Regions from separate parts of the Homo sapiens genome. Here region 1 is linked to region 2. The links are contacts of gene promoters, found by promoter capture Hi-C in human tissues and cell types (Jung and others, 2019). All regions are on one chromosome and are shown on one strand. Each heading gives the region's core, a stretch centred on a gene start or on the middle of the fragment in contact. The rest is flanking DNA. Distances are from core to core; before and after follow the strand shown. Region 1 overlaps NIN (ninein). Region 2 holds the start of ABHD12B (abhydrolase domain containing 12B).

The links. The method cuts DNA at HindIII sites, captures the fragments that hold promoters and counts their contacts. A contact is called where the count stands out against the background at its distance.
Region 1: a fragment that was not itself captured here is called in contact with the fragment with the promoter of ABHD12B in region 2 in 1 of the 25 tissues and cell types used here (spleen).

What each region holds. Positions count from the first base shown.
Region 1 is chr14:50,739,508-50,746,880 of GRCh38, forward strand. It overlaps NIN (ninein), which reads right to left. Exons shown (of 31, transcript NM_020921.4): 23 at 4,736-4,858; 24 at 3,909-4,022; 25 at 2,075-2,221. LOC124903313 (a long non-coding RNA gene) reads left to right here and starts at 3,957. Exons shown (of 3, transcript XR_007064161.1): 1 at 3,957-4,045; 2 at 4,568-4,903; 3 at 5,536-6,569. RefSeq lists an enhancer at 4,395-5,594. The HindIII fragment of the contact is 4,060 bases long and covers 1-3,321 here.
Region 2 is chr14:50,867,434-50,874,691 of GRCh38, forward strand. ABHD12B (abhydrolase domain containing 12B) reads left to right here and starts at 4,620. Exons shown (of 13, transcript NM_001206673.2): 1 at 4,620-4,845. The coding sequence starts at 4,742. The HindIII fragment of the contact is 9,841 bases long and covers 3,705-7,258 here.

The sequences.
Region 1 (7,373 bases), core at 42-2,541, 130 kb before region 2:
TAAGCCTTAAAAACAAGCTATTGGGTAATTGCTGTTTTGAGACAGGTGTCATGTTTACCCAATGACAACGACTCCTAATAAGTACCTTTCAATTGTCCCCTCAGTCTTCTAATGAAAGTATGTGTATGTACATATAAATATGAATAAAACAATATTCTTGAAGTTTGATTTAAACAAAAAGATTTGGAGAGTCTCTGTTTAAAATGGTCTTTGACAAAACAGCCATGCCATGTCCAATAATGAATATGACTGTAGGGCAAGGCCCAGTTCCATAAAGGACCCAAATGCATTGAGACTGGTGGCTTAAAAGTTGCTTCATTCTTACGAAGTTATCTTTAAGCCCAGAAGATATTCATTTGATTCACAGAGGACATAAAGAGAAGGCTGAAATGCACTGCCAACTCAAAAGCTTTCATAGGCTAAACTCTACTTTCATTTTCACATATGCAATCATATCCTTTTTTTAGAATCCAAAGCACATATTGTCCATGTAATTAACGTCTGAATTCAGAAATGTGCTTTCAGCTACCAAAGTGATTTTTTGGATCTTGAAAATGATTTAAAAAATTAAAAAGATAACACAAATAGATAAGCCTCTTACCTTTTAAACCAAACATGAAAAAAAAAAAGGTACAATCTCATTTTCAGAAAAAGTCAACCCAGAAGTAATTTTAAAAATGGAAACTTTTTTTTTTTTGAGACAGACTCTCACTCTGTCACCCAGGCTGAAGTGCAGTGGCACGATCTCAGCTCACTGCAACCTCCACCTCCCGGGCTCAAGCAATTCTTATGCCTCAGCCTTCCAAGTAGCTGGGATTATGGGCGCATGTACTACCACAGCTGGCTTTTTTTTTTTTTTGAGACAAAGTCTAGCTCTGTCGCCCAGGCTGGAGTGCAGTGGCACGATCTTGGCTCACTGCAACCTAGCCCTCCCGGGTTCAAGCGATTCTCCTGCCTTAGCCTCCCGAGTAGCTGGGATTACAGGCACTCGCCACCATGCCCAGCTAATTTTTTTTATTTTTAGTAGAGATGGGGTTTCAACATGTTGGGCAGGCTGGTCTTGAAGTCCTGACCTCGTGATCCGCCCGCCTAGGCCTCCCAAAGTGCTGGGATTACAAGCGTGAGCCACCATGCCTGGCCATTTTTGTATTTGTAGTAGAGACAGGGTTTCGCCATGTTGGCCAGGCTGGTCTTGAACTCCTGGCTTCAAGTGGTCTGCCTGCCTCGGCCTCCCAAAGCGCTGGGATTACAGGCATGAGCCACCACACCCAGCCCAAAACAACTAGTTTTTTTATAAAAAGTTTCACCAAGAGATAACTGAATGTGTCTACTTTTATTGTAGGACAAAATCTTGACATCTGCCCCAAAATGACATCTATAACATTGTTCTTAATTTATTTGCACACAGATTAGGCAGCACTGTGACTTATTAAAATGAGACACTTTCTACCACACCACCATAATGTGTCAGCCAGCTAACACTTTAATCAGCTCTTCCTGGACTTTCTGGTGCCATAGCAACCTATTTGTAGCAATGAATTATCTCCTGAAATTCAATACTATTGTTTTATGCCTTTTTAGCAGAAGCTGTACTTTTTTGCAAGTCTGTGTATAAGTTCCCAGATTAATTTCTTGCAATGTTTTTCTACATTTGATTTTTTTTAAGGTCACACAAATACTTTTCTCTACCATTTAAGAAAATGTTTTAGTTTTGTTATTACAAAACTCAACTCAGCCATGGTCTTCTGACTTGCTCAATACAAAAAAAAGACCTGTTTTATATCACTATGGTTTCATTTATATGAAATTTAGAAAAAAGCATCCCTAAACTACAGTGGCAGAGGGTACAAAAGTGGTTCCCTTGGGGTTACCAACTGGAGGGAACAAGAGAGAGCCTGCTGAGTGCTGGAAATGTTCTACATTTTTATCTAAGTGATGGTTATACAAACACAGATACATAAAATATGCATATTTATATGTACATACATATACACATAAAAATAACCAAGTTGTCCTAAGATTTGTATACTTTACTGTAAATAACTTATACCTAAATAAAAAAAGAACAAATCACCTTGCCACCAGCATTCTGAAGTTGCTTATGTAAAGACATCACTTCTTGTTTTAAAGCCTCCTTTTCCTGCTGAGTCACTCGTAGGTCAGATTTCATCCGGGACATTTGCAGGTTTACATTCTGCACGGTGTCTTCTAAATTCTGAACCTGTATTGTGAGAATGATCTTTTACTGCTACACAAACTCTTGTGGTCTCACCTCTAGCATGTTCAGGAATGAATAAGGACAAAAGAACTTTCAAGTCTGTTTGTTTCTCTTTACTAAATCCAGCTTTCTTGTCAGTAGCTCAGTGGAAACCTAGGACAGTAGGTATATTTACAGGATGTTAAATTATATTTAGGACAATGATGAACTATGTCTGGAGCAAGGTATTGCTGATAGTCATCTGGTAGATTACTAAATGGTATCTTACAATACCAATGGGTGCCAACTGGCATCACAAAAGATGGTTTCACTGAATTTTGTAGAAATTGTTTTAGCCTATGATGTTGGACTGTAAAGGACCCTCTTAGTTGCAAATAAAAATATATACTTGTAGAATCCTATTCTAGGCTAGGCATGGTGGCCCACACCAGGAATCCCAGTACTTTAGGAAGCCAAGGCAGGAGGATCGCTTGAGCCCAGGAGTTTCAAACTAGTCTAGGCAAGATGGCAAGACCCCCCATCTCTACCAAAAATAAAAAGCTGAGTGTGGTGGCGTGTGCCTGTAGTCCCAACTACCTGGAAGGCTGAGGTGGGAGAATCCTTTGAGCCCAGGAGTTTGAGGTGGCAGCAAGTGGTGATCCAGCCTGGGATACAAAGAAACCTCACCTTTTTTTTTTTTTTTTCTGGAGACAGAGTCTTGCTCTGTCGCCCAGGCTAGAGTGCAGTGGCACGATCTCGGCTCACTGCAACCTCCGCCTCCCAGGTTCACGCCATTCTCCTGCCTCAGCCTCCCCAGTAGCTGGGACTACAAGCACTTGCCACCGCGCTCGGCTAATTTTTTTGTATTTTTAGTAGAGACGGGGTTTCACTGTGTTAGCCAGGATGGTCTTGATCTCTTGACCTCGTGATCCGCCTGCCTCAGCCTCCCAAAGTGCTGGGATTACAGGCGTGAGTCACCGTGCCTGGCTAAGACCTCACCTCTTAAAGAAGAATCCTATTTTACGCTAATACCGCATATAAATTCCAATTTTAAAAATTTAAATTCATAAAGGGAATGTTGATATAGATCTTCAAAATAGGGCATAAACTGCCTTAGAAGTCCTATCTATAAATTAGGAACAAGCAGTCATTTTTATGCACTATTCTCAAGCCTTCATAATTAATAAACTTTGATGGAAATATTTAAATTATTTTGCTGCAATGTTTGAAATATTATTTAAATCATTTTGTCATACTATATTTACTTTTCTTTTTTTGAGATGGAGTCTCGCTCTGTCGTGCAGGCTGAAGTGTACTAGCATGATCTTGGCTCACTGCATCCTCTGCCTCTTAGGTTCAAACAATTCTCCTGCCTCAGTCTTTGGAGTAGCTGGGACTTAACAGGCACCTGCCACGACACCAGGCTTTTTTTTTTTTTAATTTTTAGTAGAGATGAGGTTTCACCATGTTGGCCAGGCTGATCTCGAACTCCTGACCTCAAGTGATCTGCTCACCTCGGCCTCCCAAAGTGCTGGTGAGCCACCATGCCCAGCCTTGCCACACTATAAACACACATCAAACATTGGTCAAATTGAATCATTTGGAACCCTCTTACGCTACTTCTACCTGGAACACTCTTTTTACCGGGATTTCTGTTGGAAGATCTAGGAGAATACTAACCGTGAAGATGAAACAAGAATTGTCCATGTACCTTTTCCTGAGAAGCCACCAGCTGTGACTTTAAGCTCGCACTCTGATGTTCCCAGGATTTCTGTTCCTGCTTCATCGTCGCAATTCTATGCTCTAAAAGACTTGATTTTGCCAACTGTTTCAGGAAGGGAAAAAGAGGTAAGAGGGCATTTTTGCAAACATAGCTAGCCTTAATTTATATGCCTGCACTTACATTGTCAAGAACAAGTACCATCTATTTATGTAGGGGAGCAGGGCAAGGTCAAAGGAAATGGTCTTCCTGGCTCCAAATCGAGACAAACCAAAGACTGTTTTACACGTCTAATTTTGAGGAGTTGCTTCTTTTTGGAAATTTCCTATTTTTCTTTTCTATTGCCTCATGTTTTGAGGGTGGAAGATGGTAAGCTGGAAGGCCATTAAAAATCTCAAGAGCATACCATAGGAAGAAAACAGAATATCTCTTAAGGCAGGTGGGGAAAAAAGGTGGTGTTTTGGGATTTGCTAAAGAAGATAAAATAGAAAAAAAGTGTTTATCTATGAAATTGATCTCAGATTATTAAACACATAATTTATATTATAACAAAATAGCGGTATAAAGTAGCACTGTGATGTGATAAGAAACATTTTGTATTATCGAGTTTAATAATATAATTAGTAAACAACTAATTTAGACTTCATCAGTCTTGGCTGCAGGAAGTCTGGGGTCACAGAATGCCAAAGAAATGCTGCTCCAGGACACTCTGGAACAACAGACTACCACAGGAGGCCCCTGTGCCACTGTCCACAGAGAAAGGTTCATTATGGTGTGTATTGTATACGATGATGGTAAAGTCTTATTACTTCTACTACCTTATCGACACAGCTATTTAATTCCTCACTCAGAGCTTCCTTTTCTTTCAGCAGTTTTTCGTTGTAGCTTAGAACACTAGAGATTTTTTGCTGGAAGTCAGAGAGATCGGGACATCTGTGCAGCTGTAAGAGATAAACAAATGAGCCCTCCCATCACATCTCATGGCTGTAAGTACAAAGGGGTATTTCTAAATAGGGCATTTTCACAGCTGCTGCTATTTGCCTATCTGTGGATATTTCAGAGGACATAAACTCTAGCAGAGACTATAATAAACTTCAAGGATTCCCTTCTGGCTTCTCTCTGATTCCCAGTTGACTGTTGAAATGTCTGCTTAGGTAGATTGAACCAGGCAGACATTGTTAAATAATGATCCTAGCTCTCCTTTTAAAAAACCAGTCAAGACTATAGAATTGGGCTGTGGGGGTGGCTCACACCTGTAATCCCAGCACTTTGGGAAGCCAAGGTGGGGAGGATCACTTGACCTCAGGAGTTTGAGGTCAGTCTGGTGAACATGGTGAAACCCTGTCTCTATTAAAAATAATTAGCCAGGCGTGGTGGTGCATGCCTGTAATCCTGGCTACTCAGGAGGCTGAGGCAGGAGAATCGCTTGAACCTGGGAGGCAGAGGCTGCAGTGAGCCGAGATGACTGCACTCCAGGCTGGGCGACAGAGACTCTGTCTCCAAAACAAAACAAAAAAACCCCCTAGAATTGGCATGAACCACATACAAGTAACAACCCAAAGGCAAGTTTAAAGATAAAACCGTGTTTTCAGCTTGTTCCCTGTACTCTTCCTTTCAGAAGGTGCCTACGCTGACTGGCCAGTAAAATGTTGTTGGTGCGAACATACTGGCTTTTCCTCTCCACTTCATGAAATCAAGACAAACCAAATACTGTTTTTTATTCGTCTTCAATATCAGTGCTGGTACTAGTCTCATTTTGGGCTGGATAATTCTTCAGGCGTTGGGGGTCGCGGGGCATTCTGGACACTGTAGGATGCTTCACAGCGTCTCTGGCTTTACTCAAAAGATGGCAGTAACCCCCCACCTTCCAGTTGTGAAAACAAAAAATGTGCCCAGACATTGATAAATGTTCTGGGGCAGGAGAGCAATCCTCACCCCTTCACCCTATTGAAAACCCATGCTTTAAAGAGGCTGTTTCTTACACTTCTTAACCCTTTTCCATAGTTCATAGGTTTTTAACTTTCCTCTATTTCACTTGACTCTTCAATTCTTTATTATCATTATGATTTTACGACCATCTTTCTACTTCCTGAACCTGAAATTCTTTCACATTTAGCTGTAGGAATAGTATGACAAAACAGACTTTCAGGGTTCAATCTTGTCTTCAACTGGTGACAAATCCAGCATACCTTACAAATCTGAACAAGTCAGAAGGATATAGGAAAATGTATTTTGAAATACCTGGGCACTGGTTTAATAAAGGACCTTCTACTTTATCCACTGCCTTGTCTTCCTACCCTCCAGACACCCGTAAAGCTTGATACCATTTTGGATGTCTGTAAACTGGCATGTAACTTTTGCTGATGCTATTTGTGTTTCCTTTCAGTGCAATAGATAACACAGATAGAAGTGCTTTGTGAACTATGAATCACGATATCATACAGAGTGACACATGCCTTCTAGGTCCACGTTGTATAATAGCAATGATGGGCTGACGCTACCCTATTCTTGGGATCCAAAAGGATCCAGGTCTCTGATAAAACAACTTTCTACCAAAGGCAGACCAGGCTCACAATTTCTTCATCTCACTATTTATACCAATGCTTGTTTAAAAAAAAAAAAAAAAAAGCAATAAAAACGTGCTGAATGACATCCCCATCATGTTGTTTTTCTCCTAGCTCTGCTCCTTTCCTTCTGTTCTCCAGCTTAGCAAAGCCACAAAGCACACATTTCCCATACTATGAATTTGAAACCAATCATTATCATCTAAAGGCTGAACAACAGACAGGCTTTCAAAAAGTCAAGGAAAAAAGGATGCTCAAGTTAATTAGGATAAAGTTGGTAATAACAGCCTTGGAATACTTCACCACACTACAGAAAGGCCCCATGAGTTTTAACTTCTGTTATGTTTATATGGACAGGCGACTTCTCTAGTCACGGCAGAACATGCATTTTGCATAGCAGTAGTTAACTTGAAAAGGTTCTTATAAAGCACCTATTGAGTACCAGTACTATACTAGGCATTATGAAAGACACACATACCCTGAGGGTTTTATAATGCTATTAAAAAAGCAAGACGCATAGGAGTCAATCAGATCAACATAAACATAATACCAGATTTATAGACTCAATGTTTCCACATTCAGGAAAGGACAACTTTGTGCTTACAGGTTGAAGAGACAGATGTTAAGAATGAAAATTTTATATGAGTGCCATCACAATCTGATGCTGAAGTAAACAAATAAAATGGAACAACTAAATTTTCCTACCATAAATCAAGATTGTTCCAATTGAAAGACTCCTGTAAATACTGAAAACAGGACAATGTTTAGGATGCAAATTGTTTTTTTCCAACAATGCATTTCTCCATGAGAGGACATAATTTTTAAGTTGAGACCTCTTTCATATTTTCATATTTAAAATTAAGCCTTTTTTCTTTCTTTCTTTTTTGAGACA
Region 2 (7,258 bases), core at 3,370-5,869:
TGGTTCACAGAAGTAACATTGATTAGTGATTAGCTATACATTGTTGAACTCTAAGGTATGAGTTACGGTGTCCAGCATATGGGATTGTTAGGTTAATTTATGGCTGCTTAACATCACTCAGCGTAGAGCCCACATAGCAAGAAGAGATTACTTAGCTCAAGGGAGGAGTGAGAGGTGACTGCTGTCACATTTCAATGCCTCACTGGGCCAGATAATTCAAAGGGGCTCATACTTCTCAGATAAAAAGTTTCCTTTCTTTCCCAATAGCTTTTAAAATTTTTATTATTTTTTTTTATTGAAACTGAGTCTTGCCCTGTCACCCAGGCTAGAGTACAGTGGCATAATCTCGGCTCACTGCAACCTCTGCCTCCTGGGTTCTGGCAGTTCTCCCACCTCAGCCTCCTGAGTAGCTGGAATTACAGGCATGTGCCACCATGCCTGGCCAATTTTTTTATTTTTAGTAGAGATGGGGTTTTGCCATGTTGGCCAGGCTGGTCTTGAACTCCTGACCTCAAGTGATCTGCCCACCTCGGCCTCCCAAAATGCTGGGATTACAGGTGTGAGCCACCACGCCTGGCCTCTTTCCCAATAGATTTGGAAATCCTGGTGTATACAACACAAGAAGAGAAGCAGAGCTAGGAAGGAACCCTGAGAACAGCTAACTTTTAAGGAATGGCTGGAGGAATTTGGAAAGTAATACCCAGAGAGGTAGGAGGGAGTTGTAACTGCTGGGGTTTAATCCCAGCTCAGTTCTTCCATAGATATTTAGGAAAACCAAATCTCGTGTTTTACTGTAGAAGAGCAAGGACCCTATGAGCCATGTCTGGGAATGTGGAGAGCTCTTTGGAAGAAACGGTGTACCCAATGTACTCAAGCACTTCCAGTTTCAACTGAAAGGGGCCCATGACATTGTCATTTTCTCTTCTCAAAGAAACCACCCCTTTAGCTAAAAGGAAACCCGTATTAATACTCTCAATTCTAAGCACATGAGAATAATCCAACAGCTACTCTTGAAGCTATAATGAATTGTCTTAAAATTAGATCTAATATAGAGGAAGACAATCTAAAACTAACAACATAGAAAAATAAATATTCTGAGTGAGTTAGTTACATCATTCTTTCCCTATCGTCTGGGACTGGACTCAAACTTCCCTTTAATGGTTTATTTCAATCTCAACAATATTAGATTAAAAAAAATTCCTACCTGTGCACGGAAAGCTGAGAAAGGGTAAAAAAGGTACATGGTGCTTATGTTGGTGGGATTGTATAATGGGGTAGCCACTTTGGAAAACAATTTGGCAGTTCCTCAAAAAATTAAACATAGAGTTACCTATATGACCTAGCAATTTCACTCCTAGTTGTACAATAAAGAGATATGAAAACGTAAGTCCACACAAAAACTTGTATGCAAATATTTATAACAACATTATTTACAATAGACAAAAGGTAGAAACAACCCAAATGTCCACCAACTGATGAGTGGATAAGCACAATGTGGTATATCCATACAAAAAAATATTATTCAGCCACCAAAACGAATGAAGTATTCACTGAGATAGCACATGGATGAACCTTGAAAACACTATACTGAGTTAAAGAAGCCAGACACAAAATGCAACATATTGTTTAATTCATTTATATGAAATGTCCAGAATAGGCAAATGCACAGAGCCAGAAAGTAGATTAGTGATTGCTTAGGGCAGGTGAAGGGAGGAATGGTGAGTGCTAATGGGTATAGGATTTCTCTGGGGGGCTGTGATAAAAATGTTCTAAAGTTATTGTAAATAATAGTGATAGATGCACAACTCTGAGAATATACTAAAATTACTGAGTTGTATACTTTAAAATAGTGAATTTATAGTGTGTGAATTTTATGTCTCATAATGCTTTATTTAAAATAAAAGAAAACACAAGGGGGATGCATACTTTCTTTTCAAGATATCTAGGTCTTCAACACCCAACTGCCTTATTACCAGCAGTTTACCTTCACAGCTGTACAGCAGCTGAGAGGTGGTCAGTCTTATTCCCCATTCCCTGTTTTTCCAGAATAATTTTAGGTGGTCAAATTAATCTGTCTCCAATCAAGATTTATTTTTCTGCTAGTGCAAATAACATTCAACTGTTGGTTTCTGATGTATTTGTACCATCAGCTTTGTCTTAACATTTATACAACATGACATAGGACATGTTCATTTATATAGTTTATCTGTACATTTCTTAGGTCACTTTTCAAAAGTCAGGTTTGTTGAGGTATAATTCATATTCAGTCAAATTCACCTGTGAGTTATATGCATTGGTGGATATTTATAGTAACCACCACCACACTTGAGATGTTGACTATTCCCATCACTCTAAAATGTCCCTTCGCACCCCTTTGTAGTCAACCTCCCCTCCCCACCTCCAGCCCCTGCTATCCCCTGATTTAATCTCTACCCTTAAGACACTTTTCATTTCCTGTTCTGTGTTCTCATGGTTCATCCTGAAATGAATCTCTACCAGCTGGGATCCTGATTTGTATCCCTACGGTGCCCAATGTGGTACCTGGTACCTAAAAGGTGCTCAGTAAATGGGTGCTGAATAAATGAATGCATATTTTGTTTTTCAGGTTCTATCAAATCATATGGGAGACTTTGTTCCCTGATTTCCAGGATGTGCCATTTGAAAGGGGCTATTTATACTGGGAAAGACCTTCTTGCAGAGTCTTATGCAACCTTTCAAAAAATGGGCCATAGTGATTTCCAATTTCAGAGATTTTTGCTGAGCATTTCAAACATATCCCTAGACTTGGGGCTTACAACTTTGTTCATCCAGCAAGTAGATGGAAATATCCTCTCTCAACCTGAGCAAGTAGATGGAAATAGACTCTGGGACCATATGCAGCTGTTCTTCTCTCCTCCAAGCTCTCCTCCCCATCTTTGATCCCTCCATCTCCACTTGGCATGGCCCCAGAGTCCCATCCAGAGCTTCCCTGAACAAGTTCTGGGAGATTCCAGACCACGTTTATGAAGAACTCCAAGGGTAGAGCCGACATCTGCTTGAAGCTTTCTCATCATGCAGGTTGTGGCTCTGTGAAAACCCACCTGCTGCTGGCTCATCAGTCAGGCTTGGATCCCATTGGTCCTTTCTGAGCTAATTCCTCTTCTATCTTGATGTGTGTGAATCAGAAACTGAACATTCCAGCCAGGTGTGGTGACAGAGACCTGTAATCCCAGCACTTTGGGAGGCCGAAGTGGGAGAATTGCTTGAGGCCAGGAGTTTGATAGCAGCCTGGGCAACATAGTGAGATCTCATCTCTATACACACAAGCGTGCGTGCGCGCGCGCACCAGGCATAGTGGTGCATGCTTGTAGTCCCAGCTACTTGGGAGGCTGGAGTGGAAGGATTGCTTGAGTCCAGGAGTTCAAGTGAGTTCAAGTACAGTGAGCTATGATTGCACCACTGCACTCCAGCCTCAGTGACAGGGTAAGACCATGACAAGAAAGAAAGAAAGAAAGAAAGAAAGAAAGAAAGAAAGAAAGAAAGAAAGAAAGAAAGAAAGAAAGAAAGAAAGAGAAAGAAAGAAAGAAAGAAAGAAAGAAAGAAAGAAAGAAAGAAAGGAAGGAAGGAAAGAGAAAGAAACAAAGAAAACAAACATTCCCAGAGCAAGTATAAGAGTATTAACAGGCAGTGAACAAAATCCCCCTTTGCCCTGACAGTTCCATGAAATGAGCTAGTACTCAAAGAAAACTTCCCTTTCTTGAAAAGTGTGGGTATTTTCCCCCAGACCATCTTACTATCCTCAAGCAGATGGGTTTCCACGCACTTTCTGGTGCTGACAGCCCCCTGCTGTGCCCTCTGAACACAGACACTACAAAAAACCCATTTCACCTCTTAAGATTTGCACCTTGCCTCCAAGATGAAGCCTTGATGCTGGCATCCGAATGTATCCAAATAAAACCTAATTCCCTTTCTTCCTCCTTTGTCCCCACACATGCAGGCCGTGGCTTCCCTAGAGTAGCTCTGGTAGACAGTTCCTGCTCCTAGGAGACAGTTGCACAATGTAAACCTGCACCAAGATGTAAACCTGTACCAAGGTCAAAGTTTCAAGGTGTGAACTCCTTGGTACAATGATGAGGTTCTGCTACATGCTGCTACGTAAACAAAATACCGAAAAGGTCTTAATTTTTTGCTACATGGAGTAATTGTGTTCATAACCCCACGTGGACAGACAAATCATTAGTAAATCAAAGGGAGCCAAAGAAATTCTTTCTATAGTAAGGGTGACAGGGTGGGGGGCTGTGAGGATTTTGGGGGTGGATGGGGAATTGGAGACAAGGAGGCTTCAGAAAAAGAGAAAAAGAAAAAAGTGAGGTTTAAGTAGAGGAAAGCTTATATTCTTCATGAAAATCAAAAGCTGTGGCGGTCAAACTTTTGTGTTAGTAGTACCATGGTGAAAACATATTTTACTGCGTTGCGCGCGCCTCACACCCACACACACACAGAAGTATAATGGAAATCAATTTAAAATAAAATGTAGCATAGCTAGCTATAAGCTTAGGACATCTGTGTGTGTGTGTGTGGCCGCGAACAGCCTGACCCGGGCGGAGCGCACCCTCGGGCCGCGTCTCCCCCGCCGTACCAGCCTGCCTGACCGCGCGGAGGAGGAGGGCGGGCGCGGTGCCGCCGGGGCGGGAAGGTCGCGGGCGGCTGCTCCGGACTGCAGCTCCCGCGGCGGTGGCGGCGTATCGGGACACGGCGCGGGATGGACGCGCAGGACTGCCAGGCGGCCGCATCGCCCGAGCCGCCCGGGCCCCCAGCCCGTAGCTGCGTGGCCGCCTGGTGGGACATGGTCGACCGCAACCTGCGGTGAGTACCGCCCGGTCCACCCCTGGCCGGGCCCCGACGGCTCAGGCTGCGCGGGGATGGGGCAGGGGGCCAGGGCGCGGCCGAGGCCGCAATCCCCTCTGCTGGCCCGGGCCCAAGGCCCAGCATTGTGGCTTCCGGGGGACCTCGGCGGCCCCCTGAGAACTCTAGGGCTCTTTGGTTGCCCTTGCTATCCTCAGCCTCAATCCCAACCTGGACCAGCGAGACTCTCAGGTTTGGTATTTCAGGAAGTTATAACTTTTGGGGGCTTCTGAAATACAGATGCCAGGGAGATGGTTGAATTCCTACACCAATCTCTATTATCTGACCATTTTGCTAACATACAAGATGGATCTGAATGACATTAGTAATAGTGACAATAGTAATATATGTTGTAATCTTGGACGGGATCCTCTTAGGTCAAGGGCCTATCTGTGTAGGTGGAAAAGAATCAGAAAATCCGTGCCTAGTTCCCTGAGTGTGAACTCCCTGGCATGTATTTAAAGAAAACACCTCCAGTATGCTAAAGATGTACATAGTGTGTTGAAACCATAACTTGGCATTACCTGTGCCAAGTTCTTATGTTGTTTAAGTCTGAAATGTATCAGTGGGTGTTTCGGGTTTTGTTTCTGTTTTCTTCCTCCCATGGATCCTCGGTTTAAACAGTAATCTTAAATTACCTGAATCCACCTGCAACATATTGTCAGTCTTGTTTGCACTGAAGCCAGGTATTGGTTGGAGATCGTGGACCCAGGACACGTGGGTATTTCATTTAGTTTTGTTGGTGTGGGAAGGTATTGGCATTTTTACTTCCCTCTTTCTATTCCTTTTGTTTAATTTGTGCTGATTAGAAAATATCCAAAAATTACATCCAGACACAGGAGACCTCACTTTGGAGTGCCCAGAGTGATGATGACAAACGGGGATCTTTTCTCTCTCTCTCTCTCTTTTTTTTTTCTTTTTTGAGACAAGGGTTTCACTCTGTTGCCCAGGCTGGAGTGCAGTGGCACAATCTTGGCTCATTCCCAGGGCTCCAGCGATCCTCCCGTCTCAGCCTCCCCAGTAGCTGGGACTACAGGCACCTGCCACCACACTGAGCTGATTTTTGTATTTTGTGTAGATATGGGTTTTCACTACATTGTTCAGGTTGGTCTCAAACTCCTGGAGCTCACAGATTCCACCTGCCTTGGCACCCCAAAGTGTTGGGATTACAGGTGTGAGCCACTGCACCTGGTCTCTTTTCTCTTCTATTCCTTTTTATTCTCATTGCAGACAGCAGAGTGCTGGCAGCTCTGCAGGGGCCCAGTCACCTAGAACCCATGCCTCCCAGCTCTGGGTTGGATCTGAACACGTGGCAGAATGTCCTGATTGCACTTGTCAAACTGCATATTAACAGGACTTCTCTCCCAGATGTGGTGATTCTGGGAACGTTGACATCTAATGTTTTTCACTTTGATGGTCTCTGTGGAATTGATGGCTGATTATTTAACATTTATTTGGCAGTAAAGGGCATTTATTAGGCAGAGAATCAAAGTTGCACATCATACTCATAGAGAATAACCCACTTTGTTGATAATGGAGTGGGAGATAGGGAGTTGGGGACCATCTATTACTTGCCTTACTAATTAGTGAAAAAAGTCTCAAGAGACACTTCCTGAAAGAACAAAATACTAGCGTATGTCTTCATCTGAGCAGAAGATTATTGGCTACCATAAGATGTGCTGAGGCTGAGGCCCAGACCCATTTCCACTATCCCAAGTCCTCTTTGATTCTTGGAGCCGGGTTCACTTAGGTGAGCAAACCTTCATGGAGGGCTTGCCATGCCCCTGGCCCTGATCATGGCACTGGAACTAGTGGGATGTGTTGTGAGACCCAAGAACATTTCATCATATGATTTTTTCAGTGGCTATTTTTTAATGCCTTGGGAATCTAGTTATTTATTTTACAAAAATTTTTATCAAATCCAGTTGCTGCTTAAGGTGGGTGGGCCAAGGAGAGTAAGTCTCCACTTTACAACTGGTTTTCTTTAAATTAGAAAAATGAGGCCAGGCATTGTGGCTCACATCTGTAATCCCAGCACTTTGGGAAGCCAAGGCGGGCAGATCATGAGGTCAGGAGATGGAGACCATCCTGGCTAACACAGTGAAACCCTGTCTCTACTAAAAATACAAAAAATTAGCCAGGCGTGGTGGCACATGCCCGTAGTCCCAGCTACTCCGGAGGCTGAGGCAGGAGAATTGCTTGAACCTGGGAGGCGGAGGTTGGAGTGAGCCGAGATCGCACCACTGCACTCCAGCCTGGGTGACAGAGCGAGACTCCGTCTCAAAAAAAAATAATAATAAAAAAAGAAAAATGGAAAATGTGCTCCAGAAGGAAGTTGGGGGAAACCAAAGGTTTATTTTCCTCCTCATTTCCC